Regions from separate parts of the Homo sapiens genome. Here all the other regions are linked to region 4. The links are contacts of gene promoters, found by promoter capture Hi-C in blood cells and fetal thymus (Javierre and others, 2016). All regions are on one chromosome and are shown on one strand. Each heading gives the region's core, a stretch centred on a gene start or on the middle of the fragment in contact. The rest is flanking DNA. Distances are from core to core; before and after follow the strand shown. Region 1 overlaps CDC23 (cell division cycle 23). Region 2 overlaps BRD8 (bromodomain containing 8). Region 3 overlaps HSPA9 (heat shock protein family A (Hsp70) member 9). Region 4 holds the start of KDM3B (lysine demethylase 3B).

Evidence for each region. The method cuts DNA at HindIII sites, captures the fragments that hold promoters and counts their contacts. A CHiCAGO score of 5 or more calls a contact.
Region 1: a contact is called between a fragment that was not itself captured here and the fragment with the promoter of KDM3B in region 4, in 6 of 17 cell types (megakaryocytes, neutrophils, total B cells and 3 more). The highest score is 7.8, in megakaryocytes.
Region 2: a fragment that was not itself captured here is called in contact with the fragment with the promoter of KDM3B in region 4 in 1 of 17 cell types (neutrophils); the score reaches 5.8 in neutrophils.
Region 3: a contact is called between a fragment that was not itself captured here and the fragment with the promoter of KDM3B in region 4, in 1 of 17 cell types (neutrophils). The highest score is 5.3, in neutrophils.

What each region holds. Positions count from the first base shown.
Region 1 is chr5:138,186,385-138,191,127 of GRCh38, forward strand. It overlaps CDC23 (cell division cycle 23), which reads right to left. Exons shown (of 16, transcript NM_004661.4): 14 at 3,444-3,522; 15 at 3,249-3,368; 16 at 1,266-2,764. The coding sequence ends at 2,594. KIF20A (kinesin family member 20A) reads left to right here. Exons shown (of 19, transcript NM_005733.3): 18 at 1-47; 19 at 712-1,339. The coding sequence ends at 1,029. Among named protein-coding and RNA genes, the nearest start is that of KIF20A, 9.6 kb to the left of the region's middle. The HindIII fragment of the contact is 1,277 bases long and covers 2,008-3,284 here.
Region 2 is chr5:138,165,223-138,169,696 of GRCh38, forward strand. BRD8 (bromodomain containing 8) reads right to left here. Exons shown (of 27, transcript NM_139199.2): 8 at 4,000-4,136; 9 at 2,712-2,856; 10 at 1,296-1,505; 11 at 606-886. Among named protein-coding and RNA genes, the nearest start is that of BRD8, 11 kb to the right of the region's middle. The HindIII fragment of the contact is 1,974 bases long and covers 918-2,891 here.
Region 3 is chr5:138,563,954-138,568,590 of GRCh38, forward strand. It overlaps HSPA9 (heat shock protein family A (Hsp70) member 9), which reads right to left. Exons shown (of 17, transcript NM_004134.7): 6 at 3,696-3,769; 7 at 3,502-3,608; 8 at 3,048-3,210; 9 at 2,673-2,765. Among named protein-coding and RNA genes, the nearest start is that of SNORD63, 5.2 kb to the left of the region's middle. The HindIII fragment of the contact is 2,975 bases long and covers 1,731-4,637 here.
Region 4 is chr5:138,349,295-138,354,056 of GRCh38, forward strand. It overlaps KDM3B (lysine demethylase 3B), which reads left to right and starts at 3,391. Exons shown (of 24, transcript NM_016604.4): 1 at 3,391-3,693. The coding sequence starts at 3,502. It overlaps FAM53C (family with sequence similarity 53 member C), which reads left to right. Exons shown (of 5, transcript NM_016605.3): 5 at 1-435. RefSeq lists silencers at 3,091-3,170, 3,191-3,430, 3,511-3,980 and an enhancer at 4,231-4,330. The HindIII fragment of the contact is 3,421 bases long and covers 1,445-4,762 here.

The DNA of each region.
Region 1 (4,743 bases), core at 1,396-3,895, 160 kb before region 4:
AACTTCGTCAAGCCTTGACCACTTGTGATGACATCTTAATCAAACAGGTTAGGGCAAACTATATACCCACTTCTGTCCTACCAGCCCACTCCAGTGTATATGTGAGAAAGGAAAGAGGACCAGAAGAAAAAGGTAAAGATTTTTAGGCTGAATTTATAGTGAGAGCAGTATATTTGCAAAATAAAAATAACTATTCTTTGTTAAGCATTTACTAAGTACCAGGCACTGTGCTAAGTAATTTATAGGCATTTTCTGTCACAACCACCTTAGGGAGGTAGTTACTGTCATATTTCATCTAAGATGCTACTGATTATAAGAAACCATTATTTTATGTACTACTAAGAAAAAAGTAACAATTTCTCATCAGTAAGATGCATCCTGATTCCAAAGAGATTAAAATGTTAAAATTGTGTATCTTAAACTAAACTCAACATTTAATTTGACATTTAGAGACTGAGGCACTTAGAAATTAAATTTACTCAAGCTCATACTACCTTATGTGTTAGAAGATGTCCTATTCAGCACTGCTTATGTTTTGTTCTCAGAAAATGTCCCCTTATTCAGTTATAAGCTCCGACCTTAAAGAGTTTTAATCTTTGAAGAAACAGTTGTTAGTAACTAGTAATGGATGGTATGTATTACCCTTAGCCCTCTCGTTTCTCTAATATACCAGACAAAAGTGTTTTCTATAACTTTATTGATCTTCCTTAGGACCAGACTCTGGCTGAACTGCAGAACAACATGGTGCTAGTGAAACTGGACCTTCGGAAGAAGGCAGCATGTATTGCTGAGCAGTATCATACTGTGTTGAAACTCCAAGGCCAGGTTTCTGCCAAAAAGCGCCTTGGTACCAACCAGGAAAATCAGCAACCAAACCAACAACCACCAGGGAAGAAACCATTCCTTCGAAATTTACTTCCCCGAACACCAACCTGCCAAAGCTCAACAGACTGCAGCCCTTATGCCCGGATCCTACGCTCACGGCGTTCCCCTTTACTCAAATCTGGGCCTTTTGGCAAAAAGTACTAAGGCTGTGGGGAAAGAGAAGAGCAGTCATGGCCCTGAGGTGGGTCAGCTACTCTCCTGAAGAAATAGGTCTCTTTTATGCTTTACCATATATCAGGAATTATATCCAGGATGCAATACTCAGACACTAGCTTTTTTCTCACTTTTGTATTATAACCACCTATGTAATCTCATGTTGTTGTTTTTTTTTATTTACTTATATGATTTCTATGCACACAAAAACAGTTATATTAAAGATATTATTGTTCACATTTTTTATTGAATTCCAAATGTAGCAAAATCATTAAAACAAATTATAAAAGGGACAGAAAAATTAAGAATCAAACATCATTCTGGACCATGGGAACCTTGAAAAGGCATGGCAGTGGAGACCAGTAACTAGTATACAGCTTGCCTGAGAAGGCTTAGTAACAAATGAATTCAAGTCGTATTAGATATTCTAAACCTTCCTTAATATAAGATGAAGTGTCATATGTTAGGAGGTAAAAACGTAACACAAAATTCTGGGAATAAGAATAAAGTCTGGACCCTGAGCTCAGAATGATCCATAGCATCTACTGTGCAAATATATTACAGCAGACATTATAGCATATTACCTCCTGCTGTACACACATGCACAGGCCTGAAACTCTCCAAGAGCACCATAAGAATGATTCCCTTTACCTCATCTAGATAAAGGCTGAAAAAAATGTATTCTGTTGCAGATGGGAGGGAAAAAAATAGACAATTACGTTGAAAATTTATTAAAACAGACCAGCTTGAAGTGAGTTTATTCTTGTCTGTATAATCACCAATGTTATTTCCAAATGTCCGTGAAATTATCTATAATCCTATCTCCTTGCTTGCTTTGGTAGGAGTATAGCTAACAATATAGCCATCTTTTGCCCTCAGTAAGGGCTATCAGCAGTTCCAAGCTCTGTGAGATTATTTTTGCCCTTCTTTTATTCAACTCTAGTTGAATAAAGTTACTTCCAATTTGAAAGCTTTAGAAGACCCCCCCAAAACTGTTTTGGAAGATTGTCTCCCTAGAGAGTAAGAACAAATGGATAGCTCTATTCCATTTAAACCTAATCTCTGACATCAGAATAGGGATCATGCTCAGCAAATCCAAGAGCAAGGTCATTTGTATCCATTGCTCTGACTTCTTCCTAGGGTACTCAGTGCCCTACTGCCAGCTCAGGGTAGAGTGGCAGACTTTCCTCCTTTCTTTCACTCTCAGCAGCATTGAAACTTTGTTCCTGTAGCATTGCCTGTGCTAAAGTGCTATAAAAGGGACTTTCTTGGGGGCCAAAAAAAAAAAGCATTCAGGGAAGAAGGCCAAGATCTATAGCCACTCTTTGGACATAAGTGAGACAGAAGTACTTCTAACTGGCAAGATAATGTCTGTTCCTGCCAGGATTCTGTCAGTTGGCCTCTGAAGGTAATTATACAAGCTGTCCCTATGGAGCTGTTGCCATCTGTAGAAACAAGAAGAGCTGAGGTCCTTGGAACAGACGTGCTGTTCTTTACATGGAGGTAAGGCTTAATTAAGATGGGTCTAACAATGTGCTGGCTTGAGAGTAGCCAACTATGGCGTGACAGAAGACAAGTTGAGTGGAGAAACTCTGCGTGTGGGGGTATTGTTAGCAGAGAGTGAAGCAGGTAGGAAAAAGGGAGCAGGCACCTCGGTGGTAGGAGTCTCGCCTTGGTTCCGAAGCTGTAGGATTTGCCGGAGTAAGGCCTTACCTTCTTCCCGGGTCTGCAACAAAGTCAGGGAAATGTTTCAAAACATGTCCAAAGCTAGTCTCGAAAACAAGTTATTAAGATGCTGTTAAACAAGTTCCACAGATCAAGGAGGCGGGAGGCTTGCTTGTTTTTTTTTTTTGAGATGGAGTCTCACTGTGTCACCCAGGCTACAGTGCAGTGGTGTGATCAAGGCTCACTGCAGCCTCGACCTCACTGCAGAGGATCAAGTGATCCTCTCACCTCAGCCTCCTGAGTAGCTGGGACCACAGGCATGCACCACCAAACCTGGCAAAATTTAATTTTTGTAGAGACAAGCTCTCCCTTTTTTGTCCAGGCTGGTCTTGAACTCCTGGACACAAGCGATCCTCCTGCCTCAGCCTCCCAAAGTGTTGGGATTATAGGTGTGAGCCGCTTGCCTGGCCAAGGTAGGCTTTCCACTTAAATATCTTATGTTCTAGCCTAAAATTCAAACCTTTTATTAAAGAACTGATACTCACATCATTAAATGCACAACACTTTTGTGCACAAGTTGAAGCTTCATCCCACAGTTTGCACTTAAAATAGTACTGGGCCAGATAGCGAAAGGCAGTGCTTTCCTCCAAGTGTTCTACTATTTCCTAGAAAGGGAAAGCAAAATTACTGAGGTGACAGTAATAATATCAGCAGTACAATTCTCATGGTATGATACATACCCCACAGGAATAGATATCTTGGATATATTTGATGTAACACTGGGCAGCCTGTTCTGACTCAGTCAACTGTTCATGAAGCCTACAAAAGAAACTGATCTTTAAATACCAATGATATCCCAAAGCAACTTAGTGATAAAAAAAGTAAAAGTACATAAGACCAAAAAAAACAATACATAGGTAAGTATCAATTTTGACATAAATGACACTCTTGGAACTAGAATAGTATTAGATGTGATAGTTACTGTTATCAAAGCTTAGAATCATTACTCTGCTAATGATGGAAGGAGAGTCAGTAAATATTAATATCTAAGCTAGATAAACCATCCTTGCAAAAATTATCTAGTAATACCCAGAGTAAAGTGGCTCATGCCTGTAATCCCAGCACTTTGGGAGGCCAAGGAGGGCAGATCACTTGAGGTCAGGAGTTTGAGACCAGCATGGCCAACAAGGTGAAACCTCATCTCTACTAAAAGTAGAAAAATTAGCCGGGCGTTGTGACACATGCCTGTAATCCCACCTACTCAGGAAGCTGGAGCAGGAGAATTGCTTTAACTTGGAAGGTGGAGGTTGCAGTGAGCCAAGATCATACCACTACACTCCAGCCTGGGCCACAGAATGAGACTCTGACTCCAAAAAAAGAAAAAAAAAAAAAAAAGCTGGGCACTGTGGCTCACACCTGTAATCCCAGCACTTTGGGAGGCCAAGGCGGGTGGGTCATCAGAGATCAGGAGTTCAAGACCAGCCTGGCCAACATGGCAAAACTCTGTCTCTACTAAAAAATACAAAAATTAGCCAGGTGTGGTGGCAAGCGCCTGTAATGCCAGCTACTCGGGAGACTGAGGCAGGAGAATCATTTGAACCCAGGAGGCAGAGGTTGCACTCTAGCCTCCGTGACAGAGCAAGACTCCGTCTCAAAAAAAAAAGATAACAAGTGGCCAGGCATGGTGGCATAGGGCCATAATCCTAGCTACTCTCTAATCTGGCTGAGACCAATGACTTCAAGACCAACCTGGTCATCACAGCAAGATCCTATCTATAAATTACAAAAAAAAAAAAAAAGATACCAAGCAACTCAATTTTTTTCCTAAGAATCCAGACAGGAACCTCTTTACATTTAAGAACCTCTTTGCCTACTATTTGAGTTATTCCTAATTTTTCTGGCCCTTAGCAGGAAATTAATACTGAAAGTAGTTTGACACAAAAATGTTATCCTTTCTTCAAATCAATCTTGATCTCTTGCTTTAATAGGAAAGCAACGGCCCTCCTTCAAGAGAAGTAGCATTCTCTTTTTATTTTTTTT
Region 2 (4,474 bases), core at 655-3,154, 190 kb before region 4:
TTTTTGTTAGCACCAAATGTGATGGCTTGAATCTGCAGCTTTTCGCTCCATTTTTTCCATGTAGTGGAGGCAAACAATGAAGAGGCACCTGTCCTGTGCAAACCAGTAACATGGGTAGACCTGAGGAGATGACTAGTATGTTAGCACCAAAGGGCTACAAAGATGGAGATGGGCAGAAGTAGGAGAGTTGTTTAAGTAATTCTTACTGTAAGAAGCAAAGCAGCCGAGTATGGTGGCTCATGCCTGTAATCTCAGCACTTTGGGAGGCCGAGGTGGGTGGATCACTTGAGGCCAGGAGTTTGAGACCAGCCTGGCCAACATGGTAAAACTCATCTCTACTAAAAATACAAAAAATTAGTGAGGCGTGGTGGCATGTGCCTGTAGTCCCAGCTACTCAGGAGGCTGAGGCACAAGAATTACTTGAGGCTGGGAGGCAGAGGTAACAGTAAGCCAAGATCGTGCCACTGCACTTCAGCCTGGATGAAAGAGCAAGACTCTGTCTCCAAAAAAAAAAAAAAAAAAGCAGCAGCAGCACCAAAGTGAGGCTGAAAAGAGAAGCCTATGTAGGACCCATGAGATTCTCTGGGGCTTCGCTGAATAGTTACCTTGTCCTCAATGATGGCAATGATGTCTCCAACAGTCTCAAAATCCAGCTCTTCACCTGTGTAAGACACAGCAATATCCATCTTCTCAGCCAGATCTAATTCTTCCTTCCCATCTATGCTGGGAGCCTTTGATCCAACAGGAGCCTCTGCTACCCCTGATCGAAAACACTCTTCTTTGATAGAATTGATGATCATGGATATTTCACTGCTGTCCATGGAAACAGTCACAGTATGTGGATCCCCCACAGCCTCCATGGGAACACAGTTGTCGGGTTGACTCACTGAGTAACAGAAAGAGAAAAGCATCTCAGAAGCTTATTGGGTACAAAGCGACCACCTTGAGATCACATAAGCGCTACAGACAGATGTCAAATATCCAAACACTTAAGGTCAGAAAGAGTCATCAACATGTGCCTATGTTTTCTTCTCCCCAGTTTTATCTAGAAAGGTGAGAACATATTTTCAAGCCTGCTCATATCTGTATACTTAGCCTCTTCCTGCAATACATAAATGCCCACCCACCTCTTCTCACATCTATTTCTAAGGATATTTATTTCTAAGGATAAAGATGGCACATGTCTATGTAGAACAGAGAAGAAGCATCTGAATCGGAGCTGATGCTCTTGGTCATTTTTCTCTAACTAAAGCTCAAAATGAAATTTTAGATCTAGTGGCTGCTCAGGGACGCACCTGGAGCTACACTTTCAGTAGTGGAGACAGCCGGAGCAGAGGATGGTGCTGGCAGCGCAGGCATCATGACAATGGTAGCTTGGGACACAGACTCTACAGGGGGTGGCACAAGTTTAACTGGAGGCTCACTGGCAACAGTAGTGAAGGAAGCAAGAGGTGTGGTGAACTGTGTAGGACCAGCTTCTAAAAGCCGGGAAAGAGTGGGAGCACCTAACATATAAAGAGGTACACAAAATGAAGTAAGAAGAAAGCACATAAATAAGAAGCAATAGCTACTTGAAGACTCAACTAAGAAAATTCTTATGGTCTCAAAGGATGAGAGCAACTCCTGCATTGAATAAGTTCATCATCTATATCCTTACTCTAACCTTACTTAAGATCTTCCTCCAAGTTAGGAATGAACCAAAGCACTAGAACACACAACATATATAAAAAATGGGTGGTAAGGCTAGGTGCAGTGGCTCACGCCTGTAATGCTAGCACTTTGGGAGGCCGAGGCAGGTGGGTCACTTGAGGTCAAGAGTTTGAGACCAGCCTGGGCAACATAGCGAAACCCTGCCTCTACTAAAAATACAAAAAAAAAAAAAAAAAAAAAAAAAAAATTAGCTAGGCGTGGTGGTGGGTGCTGTAATCCCAGCTATTCAGGAGGCTGAGGCAGGAGAACTGCTTGAACGCAGGAGGTGGAGATTGCAGTGAGCCAAGATTGTGCCACCACACTCCAGCTTGGGCGACAGAGCAAGGCTCTGTCTCAAAAAAAACAACAACAACAACAACAAAGGGTGGTAATTTTTCCTCAGAGGAAAATTAATCACCAAGAAACGAAAAACTGGTATGAATAAATCTGTCGCTTCTGCTGAAGTTCAGCATATTGTAAACCACCCAAGTTCAACACCATTCAAATACCAATAAGGTTTGTATGGTATTCTATGGAGCTTTTTTTATTTCCCTGCTTTATACTTTCTACCTCATTAAATTCTCATCACATCCTTGTGAAGTATATATGTTACAATAAAAAAGGAAACTGAGGCTCAAAAGCTAAGTTACCTATCCAAGGTCACAAAACCAATGTGTGGCAGGCCTGAGATTCAAGCCCAATTCTCTGGTTCCAAATCTTATTCCACTATTCTATAATCTTAGGTATCTCTAGCACCTTGATTTTGCAAGCCCTAAGAAAGCAGTTCAATATTACTCTCAATATCCATGCTGTGGTCAATCAGGGCTATCACTATCTTGAAGATAGATGGCTTTATAATATGGAGACTACATTGTTTACCAGGTAAAGTAGCTCCAAAAAAAAGTTAGAAAAAGTTGGGCTTTAAATCTAGCACTGACAACTGCTTAGTAACAGTGAAACTGAGGTCAGTCAATGTCAAGTTCAACACCTTTGAGGTTGATAAAGGAAAAGTGGTAACTTACCTGATGCAGCAGGGGAGGCTGCAACAGTATTGGGTGTTTGCTGTATCTCCCCACCATGTATCATGGGAAGGACCCCGCCTACCTCCAGGAGGACACCTGTACTGTTCAGGTGGCCAGAAGCCACAGCCATTTCACTCTCATTGACCTACCAGGGAAGAATAGAGGTGAAGGCTACACTCAAGCTTTCCTTCACTACCATTTCCCAACAAAGCTCCAGCAGTTGATCAAACTTCATGAAAACTAATAGCTAATATCCACAGAGAATAATTTAAGACCCAAGGGAAACTCTAAACTATAATGTTCAAAACTTATTTGACAAGAGTTCTCTGGAGAAGAGAACCAAAATAATTGTGATTCAGATACCTCAGGACCCATGGGTACTATCAACTTACTGTATTTTTAAAAAATTAACATTTAATTAGGAGATCTTTTCCTCTTTTGAACTTTTATTCCCCATGTCACATTTTAGGTCCCAGGCACTCCCTTCCAAGTACTAAATCACCACAGCTCTCAAACACCCACAGAAGTCTCCATACCAGTCTGGGGCTAGTAGGCAGGAGGCTGCCCTTCTTCAAGAGCTCTGACAGCAGAGGGGAGGGGGGTGGAGTTGCTTTCTGTCCAAGCATCTTTTTCTGGGGTGAATCATCTGTTACTGGGGTCATGGGGGCTTCTAAGGGTGCAGAGCCTGGAGGAAGGGTGTCAGGAATCCCAGGAAACGAGGTGACTGGGGTACTCGGCAAAGTCCCGGGGGTTACCTAAGAGACAACAGAGAACCTTTATCTGACTTCTCAAACTATGGAAGGTTCCCTACTAATCTGTATGGGTTAGTGTGTCTAACTATTATTTTATTAGTCCTGAGTGGAATTGCCCAGAAACCCTCTATCCCTCCTGCTCTTAGCCATACTTTTCTTCCCCACAATCTTCTCTTTCATCCACTCAAACCCACAGTGACTCAACCATCCCACCCAACCTGCCTTTTATGAACTCCTTACCCACTACCAATATTACATTTACAAGGATTTTGTCCCTTATTTCAGCAGGAATTTCATAAGACTAGTATGAAACAATTTCTTAAAATAGTTTTTTACCTATCTCTCAAAAAGGTCAAAAGCCTCAATGCTTTTAGGTCCGTTCTTATCTCAGAGCACAGAACATGGTAAATTAAGTCTTTAGCATTCAGATCAAGAGAGGAAGTTGCCTCTAGGCCAAAAGTGGTTTCCTCATCGCTCAGCTCTGCCGGCTTATTGCCCCTTCACTGATCAATTCCCACAGATGGAAATATACTCACCCCAGAGGTAGCCTCTTCCATAGTGGTTGGAGTCAAGTCCCCAAGTGGATAATCACCTCCTGGGGAGGCAGAATCTATAGGAGAGCGAACCATCACAGTGGGTAACCTCCGGGGGGGTGTTTTTACTGCTTGACGAGCTAGAACATAAAAGAGAACAATGTCCAAATCTTCAAGATTAAATAAATGAAACTTGACACTAGTCTGCTATTATACAATAAAGGACAAATAGGTATGTTGCATTACTAAAGCAGCATAATAAGTTTGGATTAGAAAGCTTTAACACTTCTAGAGATGGATAACTTTTTAGCCTAATTTTTCCTAAGGGCAATTCTCACACTAAGAAACTCCTTTAACAATCTCAAACTACTTAATTATCCCAAAGGTCCTTGGAGTGGGAAAGTAGTTTAAACATCCTTTAATATTCTCTTTAGCAACTTACTAATATTCTGCTTTTAAGAACAGGAAGGCCAGGTGC
Region 3 (4,637 bases), core at 1,968-4,467, 210 kb after region 4:
CTTTCTCAGGTCTTCACCTGAGAGCCTTACTCTTAACCCATTACACATGCCCATTTATCTTTTTCTGATAAACTCATCTCTCAGATGCTATTCTTGTTATGCTGAACACCTCTCTCAGGTACCTTCTTAGATTATTTTTATTATTTTTATTTTTCATTTTTATTTTTTGAGACAGAGTCTCATTCAGTCACCCAGACTGGACTGCAGTGGTGCCATCTGGGCTCACTGCAACCTCTGCCTCCTGGGTTCAAGCGATTCTCCTGCCTCAGCCTACTGAGTAGCTGGGATTACAGGCACCTGCAACCACACTTGGCTAATTTTTGTATTTTTAGTAGAGACACGGTTTCACCGTGTTGGCGAGGCTGGTCTGGAACTCCTGACCTCAAGTGATTCACCGGCCTTGGCCTCCCAAAGTGCTGAGATTACAGATGTGAGCCACTGCGTGCGGCCCCTTCTTAGATTGCTTTTAAGAGACCTGCTCTGTCACCCAGGTTGGGGTGCAGTGGCATTCACAGCTCACTGCAGCCTCAAACACTTGGGCTCAAAAGATTCTTGTGCCTCAGTCTCCTGAGTAGCTGGGACTACAGGCACGCACCTGTGGTGTAGTGCACCACGCCCAGCTAGTTTTGTAGAGACGGGGGTTCTCACTATTTTGCCCAGGCTGGTCCCCAATTCCTGAGCTCAAGTGATATTCCTGCCCTGGCCACCCAAAGTGAGGCCCCTTCTTAAATTGTAACTGCATTTTTACCACTTGTTACATTAATAGTAACTTACATTTAGAGTATTCACAATTTCCTATGTTTTCCTAAGCATGTAATATTTATGAACTTGGTAATGCTCACAACTCTTAGGGGAAGAGTACCACTATTATCCTTGTTTTGTAGATAAGTAACAGTAATGTTAATTCATCCAAGATCACCAATTAATAAGCAATACAAGGGGGACTTGAACCCCAGCAGAATGCTTGCAGAACCACCCTTAACCTTTACTTTGTATCACTTCTAGTTTAACGTTTACTAATCTGTTCTAATTAATGTCCATCTTTCCAAACCACAATATAATCTGCATGAGGGTAATAAACGCTAAGAATTTATTCTATAGATTTAAAATCACCTATGCAAAACTGAATGTGTAAGGATGCTCAATACATCTTGCTATAATAAACACTGGAAAACAATCAAAATGTCTATCAATAGGATGCAGCCACACTAATTAAAACCAACCAATCTCTTCCAACACCTCGCATCCCCTACCCCAAATGTCAAATCCCTGGGAAGAATTATCTTCTGGCAGTGCCAGGTATTTCAACCTCAACCCTAACCAACGTTGCAATGTTCTGCCACTCCATGATAGCAGGGGCAAAGTAACATCAGCAAGACCATGGATGCGTGTGTATAACTATGTCACTCCTCACAGCCACTTAAAAAAAAAAATCCAGGTTTGAGGGGAAGGTTCATTAGCAGCAACCACAGTGACAACCATCATAAATACCTCTTCCCTTGTGGGTGATCAAAATAAAGGTGTCACCGCTCTGCTTTTCCTGCTGTCACCCAAGACACCGGAAATAGATCTGCTGCTTTCTATCTTCATGGGTCTCTAACACAGATCTAAAATGGTTTATATAATTCTATTCTTGGTGGTGAAGACAAGTTTCACCTCTCAGAACTGGAGCTAACCAAACTGACAAAGAGGCTGTGTAAATCTGATGCTCACAGACGGAAACTTGCACAAGCTTCAGCTCTTTTTCTAGACTGGTGATTCAAATTATTGTCATTTTTTGACACAGGGTCTCATTTGTCACCCAGGCTGGAGTGAAATGGTGTGATCACGGCTCACTGCAGCCTCAACCTCCTGGGCTCAAACAATCCTCTTAGCCTCTGGAGTGGCTGGGACCACAGTTGTATAGACTATGACCAGCTAATTTTTCAAATTATTAAGTGAGAGACAATTAGCCGGGCTCAGTGGCTCACGCCCATTATCCCAGCACTTTGGGAGGCCGAGGCAGGTCAATCACCTGAGGTCAGGAGTCCAAGGACCAACCTGGCCAACATGGCAGAACCCTGTCTGTACTATAAATACAAAAATTAGCCAGGCATGGTGGTGCACACCTGTAATCCCAGCTACTTGGGAGGTCGAGGCAGGAGAAATCACTTGAACCCAGGAGGCAGAGGTTGCGGTGAGCCAAGATCACGCCATTGCACTGTAGCCTGGGCAACAGGAGCAAAACTCTGTCTCAAAAAAAAAAAAAAAAAAAAAAAAAAGACACTCAGAGACTCTCCAATTCACAAGGAGAGAGGTTATTTAATATTGTCAGTTAAGACAGCAGTTTTTCCAAGCTAGTAATTCTAGTTTTAAACACTGCCAGAGCAGGTTTTAAAATAAATGTCTTTAACTGAAAGGCAAACAAGTACACCCAGCACATCATTCACACATTATTTAGCTCCAGTATATGTAACTGATTTGAGTGGCTAAAAAAATTTCAGCTCATAAAGAAACTAAAGACCTTACTGTCCCTGTGCTCATGGCAAAGGTCTCTAGAAACCAGAAAACTGAAAAAACAAACAAACAAAAAAAACTCAACTGACATTAGGCCAATTAGAAAATACTATTTATTTTAAATAAGCTCCGGCTGAAAATATCCATCAAGACTGCTCGAATTTTCCGTGTCTCACCTGCACAGATGAGGAGAGTTCACATTTAGCCTTTTCAGCAGCTTCCCGTACCCTCTGAAGTGCCATGTTGTCTTTAGTCAAATCAACCCCTGTCTATAAAGTGAAGACATTGAACACCAAACACCAGCATTAGTGAGGTGATAAATAAACTGCAGTAATAAGGTGGAACAACACAAAATGGAGTCATACCTTTATATATAAGCATGAATTACTTTTTATTACCCTTAATGTGTAGGGAAAAAAAATATTCTGAAAAGAGTATCTGTGTCTAGAATAAGGGGGTTGAACTGAACTCGTAAACAAAGCAAAGAGCAATCTGAACAAAGAATTTCTCAATATCCCAACGTCTACATATTAACCACATTGGTAACTCACCTCTCTCTTGAACTCCTTCACAATGTGCCGTAGCAAGGCCTGGTCAAAGTCTTCCCCACCTAAGAAGGTATCCCCATTTGTGGATTTCACCTCAAATACTCCTTTCTGAATTTCCAGGATAGAAATATCAAAAGTTCCACCACCTAAATCATATACAGCAATGCTGTAAATGATTTGTGAAAAAAAAAAGAAAAGAAATCCTTAAGAACAAAACCTATCACCAGGATATAAATTTCAATAACCAAATACAGATAATCTAAGCTATTTCCCTGAGATATGTACTAGTTAAATTACCATGGCCCAAAAGAAAAGAAAAGAATGGTTTTGAAATGAAAAAACAAAGACAATACAGACTTAAAATCAGTAAAAGCACTGTAAAAGGCTCAATTACTAAAAAATTAAGTGACACTTTAGTTTCACACATCCAGGTGAGAAATTTACTGCACAAACTTACACTTTGTCTTCTGATTTGTCTAGACCATAGGCAAGAGCAGCAGCTGTGGGCTCATTAATCACCCGAAGCACATTCAGTCCAGATATCTGGCCAGCATCTTTAGTGGCCTAGAGAAAACAAAGAGAAAAACATTTTTGTACCCTTCCATCCCAGGCACCTTACTTTTTGTGAATAAGAATGCTAATTGACCTCACCTGTCTCTGCGAGTCATTGAAATAAGCTGGGACTGTGATCACAGCATTTTTTGCTGTGTGCCCCAAGTAATTTTCTGGAAAAGAATGAAATTCAATCATGGAATTCTGTCAGAACAGAATTATTAATATAGCCCAACAACCTGTGTCATCCTTTTGCAGCCACAGACAACATTCTTCAGTCTTTTGGTAAGTGACCTAATATGTCCTTGCAGGAAACACTCCAAGTAAATACACTGGTTAAAAACCCAAGATCAGGCCGGGCACGGTGGCTCACACTCGTAATCCCAGCACTTTGGGAGGCTGAGGCGGGCAGATCACCTAAGGTTGAGAGTTTTGAGACCAGCCTAACCAATATGGAGAAACCCCATCTCTACTAAAAATACAAAATTATTCAGGCATGGTGGCGCATGCCTGTCATTTCAGCTACTCAGGAGGCTGAGGCGGGAGAATTGTTTGAACCTGGGAGGCGGAGGTTGCAGTGAGACAAGATCGCACCACTGCACTCTAGCTTGGGCGACAGAGCGAGACTCTTGTCTCAAAACAAACAAACAAACCCAAGATCGGCCGGCCAGGCACGGTGGCTCATGCCTGTAATCCCAGCACTCTGAGAGGCTGAGGCGGATGAATCACCTGATTTGTCGGGAGTTGGAGACCAGCCTGACCAACATGAAGAAACCCCCATCTCTTTACTAAAAACACAAAAGTGGCTAGGCATGATGGCGCATGCCTGTAATCCCAGCTACGTTGGGGGGGAGGGAGAGGGCAGGATAATCGCTTGAACCCGGGAGGCGGAGGCTTTGGTGAGCCGAGATTGTGCCACTGCACTCCAGCCTGGGCAACAAGAGTGAAACTCTGTCTCAAAAAACAACAACAAAAAAACCCCAAAAAACAGAAACCCCTAAGATCACTCTTTCAACATTTTAGTGAAGGTTCACTAAACTA
Region 4 (4,762 bases), core at 2,141-4,640:
AAGCAACCTCCCTCCACTTTAGCTGTTTTGACTATTTGAATTTTCACATATTGGGCTTACCCAGAGTGGAGCACACCTCCAGGGCATGTGGCTGACACTGGGTCAATGTCTGCATCTGTGCTGTGTGTGTAGTGTGGTTGGCCAGTAGGTGAGTATCCCTGTGTGTGTGAGTGAAGCCACTCCCCAGGCTGGTGCTCTCCTCCTGTGCCCAGTGACTGCCCAGTGGCAGCTCAGCTGCCCTTCACTCCCACCTGCTGCCAAAGTCCCTGTGCTAATGGGATTACAAATACAAAAAGTGGAAAAAAATTTTCGTAAACTTTGTTTTATATTAAAAGAAAAATCCATAAGTCTGTGTGTGTTAAACATGAGGTTCTGCCTCTGTGGCTGTGTTTGAAAAAATAAAGTTTTATTAGAATAATCCATTTTCCCAAGCAACCTTGTGTACTACAGTGTCTTCTTCCCTTCCCCACAAAGACAAGGAAGAAGCAGGGTAGAAGGCCACCTAACTGTTCCAGCCCCTTCATCTAAGATGTGGGTCAACCTTTCAAAAAGGGGCAGTATTTGGACCCTAGGCCCTTTGCCGGCCATGGCAGGATGTTATACTGTGGCCCAGGCTTCTGCTAAGGCCTTGGTTATTTTTGGCAGTCTGGTTTGGTCTCTCTTTCCCTGGCAGTTATACTTGTCTCCTCCTGCCTGCTGTCACTCTCACTTCCAGCAAGTTGAAGTCAAGTATGAATGCATTCCAGCTCCCTGAGAAATGGTTTATGGTACAGTCAGGAACTTGTCTAGATTGGTTTGTAGGCTTTGGGAAGTAGGGAGAAGGCAGGGTGGGAGACAGCCAGGGATCTTTCTTAAGTTTTCACATGTTACATCCTGGAGAGATAGAGGTTTAGTCATCAGAATTCAGATTCCATAGACCTAGGCAATTTTTCCATCCTAAAAATACTGCTTTTGGAAAATAATCCTAGCTGCAAAGCTTCTCTTTTGTTGTAGAAGACAGTATTTTCCCTAATGTTTCCTTTGGGAGTGTTGGTTTGCCAAAAGAAGCTATGTGGCTCACTCTTTAGACCTTTCTGTTCCACCCTTTCTTCTCTCTATGTTGACATTCTTCCAATGTGTGTGGGTGAAGTGTAGTTGCTTAGAGATCCAGGCAGGAGCCTCTGTCTCTAAGGCTTAGCCTTTCTTTACCAGTTGTGGTGCTAATTTGCCAGGCAGCAAGAAGAGTCAAGTTGCTTAGCTTATGTCCTGGTTTCCTGCTTCAAATTGGTGGCACTCATCATTGAATACCAATGAAGTGTGTGCAGGACAGGACTGACTTGACTACCTGGAGCAGGAATCTTTGCAGGGGTGCACATACACCCTAGAAAAAGTGAGGGTTGTCACCTGCCCTGGAAACAAAGGAAGGGCTTTGGGGAAGTGGTGGGCAGTGGCATGTGGTTAAAGAAGCTTAGAATTACAGGGTTTTTTTTCTTTAAAACTGATGTTTCATTTCACCTACTGCTTGAGCAGGGGTAAAGTTTGAACATCTAAAATGACTTTGTTTCCCCCTTTTTTTCTTTTGAGTTTATTTTTGTTGGATTTTTCTGCTATTTTCTGTGAGGCCAAGTGTGATTTTATTTTTCATTCCTGAAGTCTTGTTAATATAGGAAAGAACGTAAACTCCATGAGGGCAAGAGTTTTGTTTTATTCAATATTGTGTCCCCAACACTTTGGGAAGTTCCTGGCACATGAAAAGTGCTGGTCACATTTGTTGAATGCATTTCCCTTTTGCCTTTCCCATCCGTGAACTTAGGTACATTTCTGTCTCTCTGCTGTGAGAAACTAGCCTTGGACATTGGGGCAGTAGTTAAATCTCTGTATGGGAGAAAATCCCAGCAGATAATTTTGATAGAAAAATTGCAAGGCAGATAGATCTTGTATGGATTCACCCTTGTTCCCCTCCTACCAACTACAGCTTATGGGCCATGTGCTTTAAGAGGTGGCTCTCAGCCCAGAAAAACATTCTGAGTCAGGCCTCAGGTTGGCTGTGGGAGATGGAAGTTAAAAAGAAGTGGAGGGAGGAATGTTTCCTTGGTGCTCCACAGGGTTGGTTCTAGAATGATTTTCCTATATGTTTTATACTTTAGTAAAAGTATAAAGTCAATAGTTGGTTACCCCTCTCCCCAAGCCTTTGTTACAAGAAAAGTAGGTCAAGGGTGTAGACAAGGTTATGGACAGGAGATAGCTGGGGTAGGCACAGAAGCCTTGGAGAAAGAACCAGCTACCACTATTTCCTGTCTGTAGGGAAAATCAAAAAGTCACTTTTAGAACAACAGTCATGGGTTATTACTATACCCTTTATCTTTTGTATCCATTTTGTGTATACTCAGTCTCTGCATCCATGAGACCATGGAATGTGCTAGTCCCTGATATTGCCAGCTTTAAATGATTGAGGCAATTTCCTGTTGCTTATTGTGGGTAACAATCTAGCCAAAAATCTCAGCATCTCACTTTCTCTGCAGGCTCCTTTTCTAATCAGGAGCTATCAGTCTCCCACACCTGTATTAAATGCATTCAGATAAGAGTTACAGAATTTTCTTTGCCCCCAGCCCCACTAATTCCATGGTAAGATGGAGTGCTACTAAGAGAACCCCTTTACTGTTGGTCTATTTCCAGTTCCCCTAAGAGTTGAATGGAGAAACACGTAGACTTAATAACATTGGCAGACTAGGAAGGGGAAGAAGTTAGGTCGGTTTTAGGAAAAACACCAAGATGTTGGGGGGCACGTTGGCCTTCAGTCAGTGGAAAGAGTGGCATTATACATCCAATGGAAGTAATACATTGGCCAATTGGAAAGGAACCTAAGAAGTGCTGGCAGTATAGAATGGGATGGTGCTGTTATGGGCCATTGAGAAGGAAGACATTGTGTCTCATGGACCAATGGGGAGAACATTTCCTACAAGACAGCAGGTAGGAGCTCATATTTTCAGGATAGGAAATCAATGGGGGTATTGGAGACACTAAATAGCTCAAAACATCCACTCTCTAGGTACCTTGCCCCTCACCCCCTTACCCCGTAAATGTCTTTGGTATCCGAGGAGAGCAAGCTAAAGCCCTCTCATATATACGACTCCCTGAAGGAAGATTGAGACCAGGGATGATGCCATGGGGAAGCTGAAGGACCCGCCCACTTCCCTACCCCGGCCGGACCTGCAATTCCCCTCCAGACCGCAGGGGGCACTGCAGGCCCCGGGGAGATTGGGGCGGAGCGCTGCGAGGGGCCAGGAGCTGTCGCCCCGCTCCAGAGCGCGGGGGGCGCTGTGCGGGGCCCAGGCTGCGGCTCCGCTCCCGGCCACGGGGGGCGCTGCGCTGCGCCGGTGGTTGGTGGTGGCTGTTGGGGGGGGTGGGGGGGAACGGCGGCCGCGGGTGGTGCGGAGGGAGGCCTTGCGGGCGGATCGGGCGCTTGGCGGCGGAGGTGGTGGGAGGCGGCGGGCGGGAGCGCGGGTCAGGCCGGCCCCGGCGATGGCGGACGCGGCGGCCTCCCCGGTGGGCAAGCGGCTGCTGCTGCTGTTCGCGGACACTGCGGCCTCAGCCTCGGCCTCGGCTCCCGCGGCGGCAGCGGCGAGCGGAGATCCGGGGCCTGCGCTGCGCACTCGAGCCTGGCGGGCCGGCACGGTGCGGGCCATGAGCGGGGCGGTGCCCCAGGACCTAGCGGTGAGTGGCGGCCGAGTCGGGCACTCGAGGCCGGGGCTGCGGGGCCTGCGGGCGGCCTCCCCGGGGGCCTTTGTGAGGGGGCGGTGGGATGGGGGTGACCCATTTCCGTGCCCCCGGGTCTCCTTAGCGCCCCCCGCCGGCACCTCCGCACCCCGAGCGCTTGCCGGCATGGCTTCCGCGTCGGGGTGTGCGCCCCGGTTTCCCCCGGGGGGCGGCCAGGGCGTCCGGAGCTGCTGCTTGCAGCCAGCAGGCCCCGCCTCCTGGGCGACCCTTTTCTCGGCGTTCCCCCCAACACGCCTTCGGAGCAGGCTCTCGAATCTTGAGCTCCCGGGAGCCTCAGAGTTCGGCCAGTGTTGCCGCTGCCCTCTCGAAGACGCGGACCTGTGGTCCCCAGCCTCTCCCAGGAGACCTGCGCCCTGTTCCTTTTCTCCCAGAGCCCCAAGTGGGGCGGGAATGTGGGCAGTTATGGGAGGCACGGAGGCTGCAGTTGGAGCTGGTCGGGGCTTTTTTATCTGGCAGTTACTTCCTCATCTGAGCTGGGCTCGGCCTGGCGGTCTCCAGAAAGGCCAGCTCTCGGCACTGTCTCGAGCTCTCCTCTCCTTTCCTTAACGCTTCTGGGTGACAGGAGCTGCAGTTGTGGCTGTTTTTGTTAAGTTTGAGATCTTTCTTAGTGGCCGAACGGGGCTGCTGGGTAGTGCTTTTTGCTCCCAGCTCAGCTACTCCCCCAACCTTGGGAGAGGTTTTGTTTTGAAACTTTGTGTTTGGGCTTGGCCCTTTTTGAATGCCTTGGTGTGTTTTGTGATTAAAGTTGTTCAGTCATACAACTTAACTAGCATTCGGGATCATGATGTGTTATTCTCGTTAATGTGGCGGTAAAATATAGTGTTTGAGTTTTGGCAAGCCACTTTATTTCCTCATTTTGATAGGGGCCCTAGCTTCTCTGGTGAGATAAGGCTATGAAAAATGGTGTGTGTGCGTGTTGGGGCAGGGGGTGGTCTTTTGGAATGTAATAGATCAGCAAGCAGAAAGTAAATTTTCTTGATGAACTTGCTTTTGCAGATATAAACGG